2 separate regions of the Homo sapiens genome follow, and region 2 is linked to region 1. Evidence: promoter capture Hi-C in 16 types of primary human blood cells and fetal thymus (Javierre and others, 2016). All regions are on one chromosome and are shown on one strand. The core of a region is centred on a gene start or on the middle of the fragment in contact, and the rest is flanking DNA. Distances in the headings are between cores, read along the strand shown.

Region 1 (5,196 bases), core at 1,688-4,187:
CTGTAATCCCAGGAGAGGGGATTCCTGTAATCAGGAGGCCAAGGCAGGTGGATCACCTGAGGTCAAGAGTTCAAGACCAGCCTGGCCAACATGGTGAAACTCTCTCTACTAAAAATACAAAAATTAGCCAGCCATGGTGGTAGGTGCCTGTAATCCCAGCTACTCAGGAGGCTGAGGCAGGAGAATCACTTAAACCCGGGAGGTGGAGGTTGCAGTGAGCCAAGACTGCACCACTGCACTCCAGCCTGGGCGACAGCGGGAGACCCTGTCTCAAAACAAAACAAATCCATGAGTTCACACCGATACAAATATATGACTCTGTAAGCAAAAAATAGGGGAACAGACAAATTTCCCACAGAGAACTCCAAATAATTTGCATTATATACTCTGCCTTTAAGCATGGGGCATAATTCCACACTCCTTAAATGTGTGCTGTACATAATGACTTTCTCCAAAAGTACAGTGCGGAAAGTGCAGGAGGAAAAGTAACTCTACACTGGAAAAGCCTGACTACTACCTCAAGCCAGGTGGCTCAAGCTAACAGATGTCAACAATGATAACTCATATCGATAGTATGTACCCTTGATATGATGTGATGAGAATAGCACTTTACTTCTGTGGTTGGATTAGTCCATTTTCATACCACTTTGAAGAAATACCCGAGACTGGGTAATTAATAAAGAAAAAGAGGTTTAACGGACTCACGGTTCCACATGGGTGGGTAGGCCTCACAATCACGGCAAAAGGCAAAGGGGAGGCAAGGGCATGTCTTATGTGACAGCAGGCAAGAGAGTGTGTGCAGGGGAACTGCCCTTTATAAAACCATCAGATCTCCTGAGACTTATTCACTATCAGGAGAATAGCATGGGAAAGACCCACCCCCATGATTCAATTGTCTCCCACCAGGACCCTCCCACAACATGGGGGGATTATGGGAGCTACAATTCAAGATGAGATTTGGGTGGGGACACAGCCGAACCCTATCAGTGGTCCTCCTCCCCAAAAACCCATTACCCTGATCTTACTCATGTCAAAAACAGGCAAATCCTAATTAAAGGTCCTTCTGCAAAATATCTGACCAGTCAGTACTATCTTCAAAACCCTCAAGTTCATCTAAAACAAGGGAAGTCTGAGAAACGATCACAGAGATGATGAGCCTAAAGAGATATGATGACTAAATGTAATAGGGTGCCCTGGATAATACCAGGACAGAAAAAGGACATTAGGGAAAAACTAAGGAAATGTGAATAAAGTACAGATTAGAGTTAATAATAATGTATCAATATTGGTTCAGTAATTGTGACATTTCAGATATTAGTAATAGGGGAAACGTGGGCTATATGGGCACTCACTGAAGTATCTTTGCGATAACTTTGTAAATCTAAAATTATTCTAAAACAAAAAGGTTATTGGGGAAAAAAAGAATGGGTCAACATTTCAAAACAAATAAATAAAAAACCACTGAGACAAGTATAGCTCTCAAGACTTAGCAAATACTAAATCTTCTCTTAAGACTGAAAAACTCAGATTTCACGACTGCCACAGGCCTTCATCTCCCAATGTTGTGTACTGTGCTGGTAGGCCATTCTTGGCTTCTAATGAAGTAACTTTAAATTCTATTGTGAAAATTCAGCTGAAAACAGACTGGGGAATAGAAACCAGTGTCAGAAGTTACTGTTTTAGGCCAGGCACAGTGGCTCTTGCCAGTAATCCCAAACACTTTGGGAGGTCCAGGAGGAAGGATATCTTGCCTCCAGGAGTTCAAGACCAGGCAGGAAAACATAGTGAGACTCCATCTCTATTTCAACTTTTTTTTAATTAAAAAGAAAAAAAAGCCGGGTGTGGTGGCTCCCGCCTATAATCCCAACACTCTGGGAGGCCGAGGCGGGTGGATCACCTGAGGTCGGGAGTTTGAGACCAGCCTGGCCAACATGGTGAAACCCTGTCTTTACTAAAGATACAAAAATTAGCCGGGCGTGGTGGCACACGTCTGTAATCCCAGCTATTCGGAAAGCTGAGGCAGGAGAATCGCTTGAACCCAAGAAGCGGAGGTTGCAGTGAGCCAAGATCCCGCCACTGCCCTTCAGCGTGGACGAGAGAGAGACTCCGTCTCTAAATAAATAAATAGAATGGCTTTAAAAAAAAAAAAAGGAAAGAAAAAGAAGTTACCGCTTTATGGCAATGGGTTGTACAGCCTGGCCCGTCCCATTAAAACAAATTCCTAAGAACCACGCAAAACTAGATTAGAATGCAAAGCTAAGCCACCTCTCTGGGCAAAGTCACACTGGTAGCCGGTGGGCTGAAACTGGTGTGCAGATGCCCTGCAAAATATAATTATTAATCTAAATGTGTTGTCACCATTTTAAAAATGTTTCTCATATTCATTTCTCGCTTCTCTTAGAATTCGTACAACAAACATGGACTGTGCACCTACTAAGGGCTTTACATTCACCACCTCGGTTTACCCCGCAGTACAAGCGTGTATGTCCATTTTAGAAGACGAAACTGAGGGCCAGAGAGGAACCGTGACTTGCCCACGGTAAGAGAGCCATACGGATTCGAACCCTGGCCAGATTCACTCTGGAGCTCAGGGTTCTCCTACTGCTCCACCCGTGGGAGGAAAGGCCCGGACCAGGCCATGAGGAGCCCTGGGTTCTGGCCCAGCCTCCGCACGAAAGCGCAGGGCTGCCCCAGGCGAGGCCCTCCGCCTCCCGGGGGGCTCAAATTCCCCTCCGGAAGTAACTTTCGAACAACCGCCGAGGGAACGTATTCAGGCCCTGAGCGGAGCGACAGCCGGGCCCACCAAGCGGCGCCGCTGGAGACAGGCCGGCCGGGAAAGCCAGGCCACCGCACCGAGGACGGCTCTCTCTCGGTTCCCACCCCACCGCAAAGCTGCGGCACTCACCTCCCGCGCCGCCGCGCCGCTCCCCCGGAAGTAGTTCCCTGCGACCCTGAGTCCCGGAAGTGACGCGCACTGAGCAACCAACCGGCTCTGTTCCGCCCGCGTTGCCAGGTTTCTGGGTGAGGCACCGCTGGGTTTTGTCGACTTTTGTCCCTGTTCTGTGGGTTCGAGCTGGACAAAGAGGTTTGGGGAAATGAAATCTAGAGCTTGTCAATTCTTTAAGCTCCTATATCACTCAGCTCGTTTCAGCAACATTTTTGTTTAATTAAAAAGAAAACAAAAGAAATTACTTCTCGGGGCTGGGCACGGTGGCTCACGCCTGTAATCCCAGCACTTTGGGAGGCCGAGGCGGACGGATCACTTGAGGTCAGGAGTTCGAGACCAGCCTGGTCAACATGGTGAAACCCCGTCTCTACCAAAAATACAAAAATTAGCCGGGCGTGGTGGCGGGCGCCTGTAATCCCAGCTGCTTGGGAGGCTGAGGCAAGAGAATCTCTTGAATCCCGGGAGGCAGAAGTTGCAGTGAGCCGAGATCGCGCCACTGCACTCCAGCCTGGGCGACAGAATGAGACTCTTCCTCAAAAAAAAAAAAAAAAAAAAAAAAAAGTTACTTATTCATCGCAATGGGCTGTATAGCTTGGCCCGTCTCATTGTAACAAATTCGTAAGAACTGCGCGAAACTAGATTAGAATTTTGTCCTATGCAAAGCTAAGCCATCTCCCAGAGCAGAGCACAGTCACAACTGGTAGCTGGTGAGCTAAAACGGGTGTGTAGCTGTCCTGCAAAATGTTCATCTGGATGTGTTGTCACTATTTCAAAAGTGTTTCTCACGTTCATTTCCTTAATTTTATGCCAGGTCCTGAGCTAGGAGCCTACAATGCAGAGAGGAGACAAACAGAAACACCTCTTGTAATTCAGACAGAAGCAAATCATTATAATTCATTCAAAAAGCATTCACTGAGCGCGTACTCTATGCTTTGTCCTTGTAACTGAGGACACAGTGCTAAAGCAGACACATACAGTCTCTGCCCTTGTGGTGCTTACAGTCCGTTGGAGGGAGACAGACTAATTAAATGAATGTGTAATCATATAACAGGATAAGTTTTTTGAAGGCAAAGAACAGTGTTCCATGATTAAGAAGGGGTGGGGGGCAAGTAGTAGGAGAAAAAGAAACCTAGATGAGAGTGTGATAACCAGCCTCCACCATAAACCCTGACGATTCTTGGCTCCTGATATCCATACCCCTCTGTAGTCACCTCCCACCAAGAATAAGACTGACCTGTATAACCCATAGGATATTGCGGAAATCTTGGAGCACGAGTTCCAAGATAAAGTCATAAAAGACATTGCAACTTCCTCTTTCCTCTGTCTTGATTGCTCATGGGGAATCCATGTTGTGAAGACACTCAAGCAGTCCTATGGAGAGGCTCGCATGGGGAGTAACTGAGCTGCCTGCCAACAACCAGCTCCAACTTGCCAGCCATGTGTATGAGCCAAGTGGCTCCAGCAGTCCTAGTCAAGCTTTCAAATGACTGTGGCCTGGCCAAAATCTTCAGTGTAAACTCAAGAGCAACCTTGAGCCAGAAATACCTTGCAATGCCACTTGAATGCCTGCCTCACAGAAATTGTGAAATACTAAATGTTATTGTTTTAAGCTCCTAAGTTTTAGGATAATTGGTTATGCAGCCTAGATAACATACATAGAGGATCAAGGAACAGAGGTTAGATACCAGAGACTCCAAAAAAAAAAAAGAGAGAGAGAGAGACCTATCTTGCCCTAAAGGAATTCAGTCTCTTAGAAGACAAATAATACACTCAACATTCACTAATCCCATACTATGTGAGGTGGCATGGGGGACCCAAAATGCATAATTTATTCATTTAAAAAATATTTATGGAGTTTCTACTCTGGATCATGCACTATGAAACTGGGAAGACAATGGTGAGTAGGTGGGATCCTACCCTGACTGTGCTTATAGACTAGGGGTCAATGTCTGTCACCCCCACTAATCAATCACACAGATAAATGTACACTTAAAAACCATGAGATGTGTTGGGAAGGAAGAAGGGGGAGCCATGAGAGAAGCAATAACATGGGAGATACAATCAAAAGAGAGGTGATGAGGGAAGACGTCCATGAGATCACATTTCTGGTAAGAAATGAAGAGTGGTGGCTCACGTCTATAATCCCAGCACTTTGGGAAGCTAAGGTGGACAGATTGCTTGAGCCCAGGAGTTTGAGATCAGCCTGGGCAACATGGCGAAACCCCGTCTCTACAAAAAATACCCAAAAA
Region 2 (5,196 bases), core at 1,846-4,345, 740 kb before region 1:
TTACGTGCTGCTTTTGCCGTCTGCGGGTCCAGTTGACTTTTTCGAACTTAAGTGAGGTGTTAACTTTAGGGAAAAGGTGGAGGGAACTAACTTAGCCTTCCCAATGTGTCTGTTGACCTCATGTTGAGACACACTATTTGAGGCCTGGCGCAACGTCTCTTGCTTGTAATCCCAACCCTTTGGGAGGCCGAGGCGAGAGGATAGCTTGAGGACTGGAGTTCAAGACCAGCCTGGGTAACAGCGAAAATTAGCCAGGCATGGTGACGCTCACCTGCAGTTCCAGCTACGCGAGAGGATACCTTGAGCCCAGGAGTTAGAGGTTACAGTGAGCTATGATCGTGCCACTGCACTCCAGCCTGGGCGATGGAGCGAGACTCTTCTCTGAAACAAAACAAAACACTATCTGAGACTCTAAACCTTGACCCTATTTTTTTTTTAAGTTTTAAATCCCAGGTATCAAAGCAGCAGAGAAATTTTGTTTTTCTTACTGCCACGGGGGTGATGGTAGGGAGTTAAGTTATAGACATAAGAGGGTTTTAAAATTTCCTGATCGTGGTATAACTTCCTAGTTGTGGGCAGACTCTAGTTTAGGAGACGTTCTTCTAGTTGATGCCTGCTTTTGCTCTTATTGCACTGTATTGCAGTTCTTTGCTTACATGCTTTTACCCTTCCTCCAGACTGGAATCATAATCATAGCTAACGCAGTGAGAGGTTACTATGTGCTAGACACAATTCCCACACAGTAACTCATTTAATCCTCACAACAAAGCTGTGAGGTATTATATTATCCCCCTTTGGACAGCGTAGGAAACAGGCTCAGAGAGGTTAAGTGACCTACCCAAGATCACATTACTAAGACTTGAGGGAAGGGGCTGCAACTTAGCCATCTTTTTGGCCCCAGTTCCTGATTTATCAAGTGAGTTAGTGTAAAAGAGGTGAGTAACCTAAAATCATACAGTGAGTATCTAGTCATAACTGAGGGCTTTTGTGTCGAAATCTAGATCATCTTTCCATATTAATAACACTGTCATATACTGAGCACTTTTATACCAAGTCACTGTCTATTAAGCACATTACATACTTTTTAAATTTAATTCTTACATCAGTCTTAGGAGTTGAAATTATTACAATCACTATTTGATAGACGAGAAAATGTAAAGCATGGTTAAGTACCCTATGTACTTGGACATAGTTAGGAAATAGCAGAGCCAGGAGTCAAATTAGGGTTATCTTATGTCTGATCCCAAATTCTTGCCTCCTGAACCAATAGTTTATTCATTCATTCGGAAAATAATTTTTCAGCACCTATGTCCAAAGCACTCTTCTAAGCTAACAGACAAAATCCACGTTCTCAGGAACTTACTTTCTACTGAGAAAGATAGAAAAACAAACATGCAAGTTTAGAATAAGTCAGAAAGTGGTAAGTAACTTCAATAAAAATCAAGGAGATAAGGAGGATAAGGAATGTATATGTGTAGGTGGGTAGTCTTTTACTTATGCTTCTCAGAGAAGGCCTCATTGATAAGATGTCATTTGAGAGACAAGCCATATGCCATTGTTCCAGGAAGAGGGAAAACCAAGTTTATACCATTGTTGGCATTTTGGAGCAACAGCAGAGAGGACAATAAAGCTGGAGTGATATGAACTAGAAGGGTGGCTGGAAATTAGTTCAGAAAAGTACGAAGGGACTGCATCACATGGTGACTTGTAGGCAATAGTATAGACTTTAGATGTTACTCTGAATGAAATGAAGTCCACTGGGCAGTTTTGCACAAAGAAGGAGCATTGTGGCTGTTAGGTAGAAAATAAGACAGTAAGAGTGCAAAGGTAGAAGCAGGAAGGACCAGTTTGGCAGCTGTTGTAGTAACCCAGGTGAAAGGATAACTCAAACCAGGGTGGTATCTGTGGAAGTGGTAAGAAAGGGACAGTTCTGGGGATATTTTAGAGGAAGAGGTAACAGGATCCGCTGATAGATTGGATATGGGGTGTGAAAGACATATGAGAGTTGAGATAGCTCCAAGGGTTTTGGCCTAAGCAACTATAAGAATAGCGCTTCCATTTACTGAATTACAGAAAAGAGTGGGTTTGGAGAGTAAGAGCAAGCATTTGTATTTGGACATGTCCATTTGGAAATGCCTATCTGAGTATAGATGTCTAAGGGGCAGTTGGGTTTATGGGTCTGGAATTCAAGGAAGAGCTATCTGGGTTAGAGATAAAAATGTGAGAGTCATAACGGAATAAGGTGTAAAAAGAGACTGAGTCCTAGGATTCTTCAACATATAGAGGTCTGAAAGGTGAGGATGATATGATTATGTGATTTTTCTTCTTAAGCTTGTTAATAGCTTGTTAGTATTAACAACTCTAATTGATTTTCAAATATTGAGCCAGTCTTGCATCTCTGAAATATACCCCACTTTATCATGGTGTGTGTGTGTGTGTGTGTGTGTGTGTGTGTGTTTTACATACTGCTGAATTTCCTAATATTTTCTTTAGGATTTTTGCATCTATACTCATGAGAGAAATTGGTCTATAGATTTTTTTAATTTTTGTATTGCCTTTGGTTTGGTATCAGGATAATACTGGCTTTATAAAATGGATTGGAAAGTGTTTCTTCTTTTTCTAGAAGAGTATGTGCAGAATTGGTGTTAATTCTTCATTAAATGTTTGGCGGAATTCTCCAATGAAACCATCTTGGTTTGGAGATTCCCTCCACTCCCTGCTTCCCTCCCTCCCTCCTTCCTCCTTCCTCCCTCCTCCCTCCCTCCCTTCCTTCCCTTCTTCCTTTTTTTTCTGGAGTTTTTAAGTGACAAATTCAGTTTATTTAAAAGTTATAAAGCTGTTAAAATAATCTCTTTCCTATTGTGGTTGTGTTTTTTGAGGAATTAACCACTTCATCAAAGTTGTCAAATTTATATGGGTAAAGCTATTTGTGGTATTCCCTGTCTTTGTTTTCTGTTGCTTATAACAGAATACCTGAAACTGGGTAATTTATAAAGAAAAAGGATGTATTTCTTACAGTTATGGAGGCTGAGAAATCCAAGGTCACAGGGCCACATCAGGTAAAAAACTTTCTTGCTGGTGGGGACTCTGCAGAGTCCCAAGGCAGTGCAGGATATCACAGGGCCAGGGGGCTGAGTGTGCTAGCTGAGGTCTGTTTTGCTCTTATAAAGCCACCAGTTCCCATGATAACCCATTAATCCATTTATGAGGGCTTATAAAGACTCCACTTCTCAATACATTGGGAATTAAATTTCAACATGAGTTTTGGAAGGGACGGATATTCAAACCATAGCATTCCCATATTACCCTTTGATGTCTGCAGGGTCTGTAGTACTGTCCCGTTTCATTACTGATATTGGAAATTTCCAGTATCAGTGTCTCGTCTCTTCTCTCTCCTCTCTCTCTCTCTCTCTCTCTTGCTCACTCACTCCCTTGTCAATCTTGCTAGAAGTTTGTCAATTTTATTGACCTTTTCAAAGAACCAGTTATTTATTTCATTGACTTTCTGTGTTTTCTGTTTTCAGTTTTGTCAGTTTCTGCTCCTTATTATTTCTTCTGCTTGCTTTATTTTGCTCTACTTTGTCTAGGTTCTTGTGGTAGGAGTTTACCTTTTTCGTTTGAGACTTTTCCCCTTTTCTAATATATGACTTAGTACTATTAATTTACATCTCAGCATGGCTATAGCTGTATCCACAGATTTTGGTGTGTCATATTTTCATTTTCATTCATTTCCCTATTTTTTTTCTAATTTCCCTTAAGGTTTCCTCTCTGTTCCGTGGATTATTTAGAAACATGTTGTTTAGTTTCCAAGTATTTGGAGATTTTCCTGTTATCTCTGTGTTAGTGATTTCAAGCTTGATTTCATTGTGGCTGGGGAATGTCACTCTGTATGATTTCAGTTCTTTTAAATTTGTTGAGGTTTGTTTTATGGCAGGATAATCATCTGTCTTATGTTCTATGAGCACTTGAAAAGAATGTGGGCTAGGCACTGTAGCTCATGCCTGTAATCTTAACACTTTGGGAGGTCAAGGCAGGAGGATCACTTGAGCCTAGGAGTTCAAGAACAGCCTGGGCAACATGGCGAAACTCGGTCTTTAAAAAATACAAAAATTAGCTGGGCATAGTGGCATGCACCTGGAGTCCCAGCCACTCAGAACGCTGAGGTGGGAGGATTGCTTGAGCTCAGGAAATTGAGGCTGCAGTGAGCCATCATCGAGCCACTGCACTGCAGCCTGAGCAATAGAGTGAGATCCTGTCTAAAAAAACAAATAACAACAACAAAAGAATGTGTAGTCTGCTATTGTAGGATGGAGTGTTCTATAAATGTCATAGGTCCTGTTGGTTGATGGTGGTGGTTTTTCTATATCCTTGTGGATTTTTGGTCTAGTTATCCTATCCATTGTTGAGAGAGGAATATTGAAGTCACCACCATCTATTGTGAATTTGTTTCTCCTTTTAGTTTTATCCATTTTTGTTTCACACATTTTACAGCATATACATTTTAAGATTGCAGTATGTTCTTAGTAGATATACCTGTTATTCATTGTACTCTGTCTCTGGTAATTTTTTTTCTTTTGCTCTGAAGTCTACTTTATCTGGTGCTAATATAGCTACTTCTACTTTCCTTTGATTAATGCTTACATGATAATATCTTTTTCCATCCTTTGATTTTCAATCAGCCTCTATAATTCTGCATAGTGAGTTTCTTATAGACAGCGTGTAGTTAGATCATGTTTTTAAATCCACTCCGCCAATCTCAATCTTTTAATTGATGTATTTAGACCTTTTATGCTTAATACAATTATAGTTGACCCTCTATATTCATGGGTTCCGTCTCTGTAGATTCAGTCAACTGTGGATTGAAAATACAGTAGACCCTTGAACAACACAGATTTGAACTGCGGCCATCTATTTATATGCAGATTTTCTTTCCCTTCTGCCAACCCACCTCCTCCTCAGCCTACTCAAGGTGAAGACAAAGATGAAGACAGACCTGTGTAATGATCTACTTCCACTTAATGAATAGTAATTGTGATTTTCTTTTCTTTCTTTCTTTTTTTTTGAGATGGAGCCTCGCTCTGTCACCCAGGCTAGAGTTCAATGGTGCGATCTTGGCTCACTGCAACCTCCGCCTCCCGGGTTCAAGTGATTCTCCCACCTCAGCCTCCTGAGTAGCTGGGATTACAGGCACCTGCC

Evidence for each region. Contacts are between HindIII fragments. The CHiCAGO score rates a contact against its expected background, and 5 or more counts as called.
Region 2: a contact is called between a fragment that was not itself captured here and the fragment with the promoter of MANBAL in region 1, in 1 of 17 cell types (total B cells). The highest score is 5.2, in total B cells.

The regions. Positions count from the first base shown.
Region 1 is chr20:37,287,396-37,292,591 of GRCh38, reverse strand. MANBAL (mannosidase beta like) reads right to left here and starts at 2,937. Exons shown (of 3, transcript NM_001003897.2): 1 at 2,906-2,937. RefSeq lists enhancers at 725-834, 2,063-2,967, 3,040-3,149. The HindIII fragment of the contact is 7,246 bases long and covers 1-4,425 here.
Region 2 is chr20:38,027,790-38,032,985 of GRCh38, reverse strand. The region is part of intron 1 of TTI1 (TELO2 interacting protein 1); the gene reads left to right. Among named protein-coding and RNA genes, the nearest start is that of TTI1, 3.1 kb to the left of the region's middle. The HindIII fragment of the contact is 1,523 bases long and covers 2,334-3,856 here.